Linked DNA regions of Homo sapiens: region 1 is linked to region 2. The links are contacts of gene promoters, found by promoter capture Hi-C in blood cells and fetal thymus (Javierre and others, 2016). All regions are on one chromosome and are shown on one strand. Each heading gives the region's core, a stretch centred on a gene start or on the middle of the fragment in contact. The rest is flanking DNA. Distances are from core to core; before and after follow the strand shown. Region 1 overlaps FXR1 (FMR1 autosomal homolog 1). Region 2 holds the start of DNAJC19 (DnaJ heat shock protein family (Hsp40) member C19).

Evidence for each region. The method cuts DNA at HindIII sites, captures the fragments that hold promoters and counts their contacts. A CHiCAGO score of 5 or more calls a contact.
Region 1: a fragment that was not itself captured here is called in contact with the fragment with the promoter of DNAJC19 in region 2 in 4 of 17 cell types (non-activated CD4 T cells, naive CD4 T cells, naive CD8 T cells and 1 more); the score reaches 5.5 in non-activated CD4 T cells.

What each region holds. Positions count from the first base shown.
Region 1 is chr3:180,937,436-180,940,856 of GRCh38, forward strand. The region is part of intron 3 of FXR1 (FMR1 autosomal homolog 1); the gene reads left to right. Among named protein-coding and RNA genes, the nearest start is that of FXR1, 26 kb to the left of the region's middle. The HindIII fragment of the contact is 2,077 bases long and covers 375-2,451 here.
Region 2 is chr3:180,988,434-180,991,669 of GRCh38, forward strand. DNAJC19 (DnaJ heat shock protein family (Hsp40) member C19) reads right to left here and starts at 1,303. Exons shown (of 6, transcript NM_145261.4): 1 at 1,167-1,303. The coding sequence starts at 1,169. The HindIII fragment of the contact is 8,604 bases long and covers 1-3,236 here.

The sequences.
Region 1 (3,421 bases), core at 163-2,662, 51 kb before region 2:
CCCCTGTGGTCTGCCTCCGCTTTTGTGAAGAAGACATTGGTGTTAGAGATTGAATGATTTAGAAATTGAATCTAGAGTTTTTTTTAAATTTCACGTTATGTTTTATGATTCAGCTCTGGTCAAATTTGCTCTCTAGAATTTTGTAAGTCATTATCTGAAATTAAAATGTGATTTTTTTTCACTTTTGAAAAATTTAAAAATTAATATAAGGAAAAAGTTTAAGCATAATCTTGCCACCCATAGGATTTTGTTTTTTTGTCACCGTTTATTAAGGATTTATCCATATTACGTAGAGTGTTTAGAAATTCGGAGTTAGTGCTTTCCCAGGTAACGTTTCGAAAGCCTCTTCCCCTTCTTTAAATTTAAAGTAATAAAGCTTAATGTAAAAAATGAAATGGTAAAAAATTATATAAAGTACAAAGTAAACCTTCCATCTTAATGTAGGTGTACTTGTCCACCCACCCTATCTTAAATCTCATTTACCAGAGTTGATTCTCTTGTAAGTTTTTTATTTGCATGTATAAAGGACATATTTAAGTTGAAAAAAAATTGGGATTAAGTTATATATTTGTGACTTTTGTATTCACTTAATTAGGACAGCAAACATTTTCGTGTCTTCTCATTTAAATTTACCTCATTTTTTGTAACCACCTCAAAATTATTTGGTGTGGATATATCAAATTAAAAGACATTGAAATTACCAGATTTTTTGCTGTTAGCAAAAGAAAACAATGCCAGAGTTAAAGTTAATATTCTTATGCAAGTCTGGTAGTATAATTCCTAAGAGGTTAATGTTTTTAAAAGTATTAAAATGTACCATTTCATCCTCCAAAAATGTCTTCAGAATTACTTTATACTTTTATTAACACTGGAGGTATCTTTTTCATACATTAAGTGACTGTATTATATTGTTCATATGTACAGTTTTGTAAACTTGGTGGATGGAAACTGATGTCTCATGAATTCTCATTTCCTTAATGAATAGTAGTATGGGAACATCACTTAAATTAGTTGGTTGGCTCTTAACCCCTTGTTCTGTGAATTGTCTATTTTTTGTTTGTGCAGTTTTTGGTGTAGGAAGTCCTTGCATTTTATGGCTGAGTTTTATTTTTTTATTTTATTTTATTTTTGAGATGGAGTTTTGCTCCTGTTGCTCAGGCTGGAGTGCAATGGTGCGATCTCGGCTCACTACAACCTCCACCTCCCGGGTTCAAGCGATTCTCCTGCCTCAGCCTCCCTAGTAGCTGGGATTACAGGCATGCGCCATCATACCCGGCTGATTTTGTATTTTCAGTAGCGACGGGGTTTCTCCATGTTGGTCAGGCTGGTCTCAAACTCCCGACCTCAGGTGATCAGCCTGCCTTGGCCTCCCAAAGTTCTGGGATTACAGGTGTGAGCCACTGTGCCCAGCCCTGAGTTTTTATCTTTTTTGTGTTTTTTTCTTAGGCAATTTTTTTATTTTTTATTTTTTATTTTTTGAGATGGAGTCTCACTAAGTTGCTCAGGTTGGAGTACAGTGGCACAATCTCAGTTCACTGCAACCTCCACCTCCCGATTTTAAGTGATTGTCGTGCCTTGGCCTCTGAGTAGCTGGAATTACAGGTGTGAGCCACAATGCCCAGCTAATTTTTTTATTTTTAGTAGAGATGGTGTTTTGTGATGTTGGCCAGGCTGGTCTCGAACTTCTGGCTTCAAGTGAACACCCGCCTCGGCCTCCCAAAGTGCTGAGATTATAGGCGTGAGACACTGCGCAGGCTTACTTTTACATTTTTAAATTATGTTTTCTACATCTGCTTCCCTGCACTATTTTTCCCTTATACCGGTGGGGGGGTGTGGGTGGTAATCCTTTTAGGTTGCTTCATATCTGATCGCCTTAGTTATGAAATGTAATTTTTTGGTCAATAAACACTTTTTCTTAAAATTTTTCTGGGATTGTGCAAAATAGCAGAGGTAAACTGTCATTCTTCAATCATACTTAGAGATGGTCAGGCTCGATTGTTTACTGGTTTATTATAAAGGATACAAGTCAGGAACTGCCAAATGAAAGAGATGCATGAGGCAAGGTCGGGGTGAGGGAAGGGGCTTGGAAAGTAGAGCTTCCATGACTTCTTTGAGCATGCCACATTTCCAGCCCATCAATAGATTCACCAGCCCGGGAGCTCTACCATCATACTTTTTAAACAGATTATTTCAGAGTCACAAAACGGTTTGTGTCCTCTTCTTAACTGTGTGAATACTTTATTAGCTTGTCCAAGGTTAGTCTGGAGGTTGGGAAGCTGATAACCAGTTTCATTTTTTGTTTTTCCAAATGTATTCAGAGGGTTTGGTCAGTTTTGTGCCAGACTCACAACATTCTTCTGCAGCTCTAGGAATCCTTTGAAGGAAAGAAAAGGTGACTTTGCCCTTAGTAATAAATTTAGAACAAAAATGATCCAAGAGAGAGCTTTATTAAGCTTGTAAGGTGATTTTTAAAGACTTGAGCCATAAGAAATTTCCATTCTTGTAGGTCAGAAATGGTTAAGTATTGACAGTTTCATATGGTTTACACTAACATTTTGTTACATTAAAAATATATTGGTTGCTTAAATACAGGGTTTGCCTTTCTAGCCCCTTAGGAAATTTACATGAAGTTACAGCACATAAAGTAATGTCATGGCCCAGCAGTGGACCCAAGAAGACAACATATGATTTATAGTAGAAAGTTAATTTTGAAAAGGTCTAAAATGGAAATATTTATTTTTATACCTAATTAGTGGTTTTTTATTTGCCTTTTAAAAATGGTGTCATCTCTTTAAAAATCTTCATAACACTTAATAGTAAATATTTCATAAGTATTTGCTTAATGATTGATTTTTGCTGACTAAAGATTGCTAGAAAAATATGCTCCGCCTGTAAAGTTTGAAGGTAATGTGAAAATGAAGAGTTCTTTAGATTTCGTTTACATTGGGTATCTAGTACAGTGTTTTGGGCTCTTGGAAGGGCAGTAGAAATATCCCTCCTCCCTCATTTCACATGTAACATTTTTGCTTTTTATTTTAGATATCTGCCTTGCTCAGCAAGTAATATATAAGCAACACACATAGACACGTTACATAGTAAGCCTGACATCTAAGGTGATAACGTGTTTAGTTTTTGTTTTTTTCTGTTTTCTTTTTTTTTTGGAGATGGAGTTTCGGTCTTGTCCAGGCTCTAGTGCAATGGCGCCATCTCGGCTCAGCGCAACCTCCGCCTCCTGGGTTCAAGTGATTCTCCTGCCTCAGCCTCCCAAGTAGCAGAGATTACAGGCATGTGCCACCACACCCAGCTAATTTTGTATTTTTGGTAGAGACGGGTTTTCTCCACATTGGTCAGGCTGGTCTCGAACTCCTGACCTCAGGTGATCCACCCGCCTCGGCCTCCCAAAGTGCCAGGATTACAGGCT
Region 2 (3,236 bases), core at 53-2,552:
TCCCACCTTGGCCTCCCAAAGTGCTAAGATTATAGGCATAAGCCACCATGCCTGGCAGAGAAACAACTTTTAAGGCGGAAATATTCTGTCCAGTAATCTTTAAAACTACTGCATCTGTTATGCTGAATGCATTAAAGTTACAGGATTCATCATATGGGAAAGAGGGCAAGTTCGACTTGCTTATTTATCTTTACAATAGTGAAAAAGATGATTCCCTCCCTTTGAAAACTTCTTTCATCACCAGACAAATTAAGTCACATTAAAGTTCAATCAAAAGTAGTGGAAATAGGCCAGGCGCGGTGGCTCACGCCTGTAATTCCAGCATTTTGGGAGGCGAGGCGGGCGTATCACTAGGTCGGGAGATCGAGACCATCCTGGCTACCATGGTGAAACCCCGTCTCTACTAAAAATACAAAAAAAAAAAAAATTAGCTGGGCGTGGTGGTGGGCGCCTGTAATCCCAGCTACTTGGGAGGCTGAGGCAGGAGAATGGCGAACCCGGGAGGCGGAGCTTGTAGTGAGCCAAGATTGTGCCACTGCACTCCAGCCTAGGCGACCGAGCAAGACTCTGTCTCAAAAAAAAAAAAAAAAATGTGGAAATAAGGTTTCTGCTACAGAAGGAAAAACTGTTTACAGACGGCTCCTGTAAAATTCTAACAACGCATTTTCGAGGCTAAACGTGGGCTAAACTAGGAGACTAATACCTTTGGCACTGCCCTGTTGTTTCCTAACAAGACAGGCCCAAATATGTTCAGGAAGCATGGAGAAGACATCTGTCAGCAAAAGCCAAAGAGAAGGACATAGCAAAGTGGAGCTAGTGCTGTGAAGATGTGTTAGGGCAAGGGCACTTATAATCAAATACGTTTCCACTAATCTCCGAGTCCATGACAGCCTCTGACCTTACAGGAGTTCCAGGCAAGCAACACCTGCAGAGCCCGTGCGGACAAGAAGCTGGAGAACCGTGCAGAAAGACGATGTAAAAACACAAACCCCCAAGAGAGCGAGCCAACAGGGTTGTGTCCTGGTGAGTGTGACTCCCCAATAACCGAAACCTCCCGCCCGCAGTCGCACTAAGGAGCACAACTTCAACTCCACACCTCCGAGGCGGGGAGCTGAGGTTGAGGCCTGGGCCGGAGGTCGCCAAGAAGACCGGAAGGCCGCACTCACCATGGCTCCGGCTGGGCTCCCTTGCTTCCACCGGGAGCACGGCTCATCCCAGCTCAGAGGCCGCGGCCAACACCTGCACGCCTTTACCAGAGAGCGACGCAACCCCCAACCTCAAGCACAGGCGCCCTACGCAACACGGCAGGAGCAGCCGCAAACTAGGCCGGAAAACTGTCGTAAAAGGGGACGCGGAGGAGAAGGAAAGTCGCTCAAGCAGTGGACAGAGCGGAGAAAGCGACTTCGGGTTGGTTGAAGGGTGGGCGGATCTCTTTATTTCTGGGTGTAGGGGTGGGGCTTCTCTGTGTTTTCTGTCCTTTGCTCCTGGGCGGTGGGTATTTGGAAATTCTTGCAGGGAAGGGCATGGGCAGCCTTACTCAGACCGATTTTTTCCCCCTACATCTTAGCACCTCGTTTTGCCTTTATTTTATGTTAATAATTGTCAAGGGTAATGAATGTAGTTAAACATGCTGTGACATTTCCACCACGAACCCAAACAAATATGTTGTAACCCAGTGTAGGAAACGAGATGCCCAGAAAAACAAATGAAACCAACCACACTGTGTTTCAGGGATTGCTCGGTAGCATTTTTTAATGTAAAAGAACTTCATTTAAGGATGTGACTTGACAAGACTTTGTGAATATTTGGGTTTTCGTTTTGTAGAATGGGATTAAAGACAGTTCATATTCTGAACATGGAATGTCAAGATCCTACAACTGAAAAGGGCTATTTAAAAGTTTTCCTCCTCACCCAAAATAAAAAGTAGGGCTGGATTTTGCCCTTACGTGGACATCAGTTTCATACATCCCTACATAAATGCTTGAGAAGAAAAAAATAATGGAGACAATAATGGAATTTTACAATGCAACGTTTGCATGATCAAAATAAGTTTGGAGTTACTTCCCACTCAGAATTTACAGTGTTAAATATCCGTTTACATTGCAATGCAATTCTGCTTTGATGAGTTTGTTAGTTATTAAACAAATATGCAAAATTTTTGGGTTTGTTTTCCTCATCTGTAAAAGCAGTTTGCATTTGATAATCCAAGAGCTCTTCTAGCGCTAAGGTTTTTGTGATGTAATTTATTGTCAACACATGATTTAAGGTGACATCCAGCACTAAGACACTAGCATTAAGTTTATAACTTCCTCTTTTGCCTCTCTTTTATCTGGTTTTTACCCAACAATTACAAAATAAATAATCAAGTGAGGCATAAGACCTTGGGACCAAATTGGCATCAACAAGCTAGAATGCTATCTGGAAAAATTTATTATGCATATTTTTGGTATGTACAAACTGTGTAATGCAGTTTCTGGAGGAATAGATTTACAGTAGACTCTAATTAGCTTTGAGACTTTACAAAACCCAGACTCAGGAAATTGGGAGTAGCAACACAGCAAGACATTTTGTTGAGCTGGAGATAGCTCTTTTTTTGGTGGCAGATCAAACTGGAGGTAACCTGGCTCTGTCACTTACTAATACTGTGACTTGGAAAAGTTATTTCTGATTGAGTTTCTTCCTCATTTGTAAAATGAAGGTAATGATAACTACCTTGCCGAGTTTTTGTGAACGTAGAGATTATGCACATATTGTGTTCTGCTTATGGTCATCACTCAGTGTGGGGCTATTATTATGAGGGAAGCCAGAGTGCAAATTGGAGTGTAGAAGCCTTCCTCATTCTCATGATACCTCACTCATGAATCTTAAGTCTGGTTGCCTCTTACCTACCTGCCAAGATCCTAGAAACAGCCTTGAAAAGTAATCTTTTTAAATGTCCACTGACTGATGAATGGATAATCATTCCTCATTTCTTCTAGCTTCTGGTGACTGCCAGCATTCCTTGACTTGTGACTGAATCACTGCAGTCTTGTAAGCCAGCATCTTGAAATCTCACTCTGCTCCAACTTTTCCATCTTCACATTGTCCTTCTCTTCTGTTTGTAAAATCTCCTTCTGGTTTCCTCTTAAAGGATATATGTAATTGCATTTACCAGCTACCCAGATAATCCAGGATAATCTCCCCTTCTTAAGATCCTTAACTTAATCATAGTTTCCAACACTTTGCCATATAAGGTA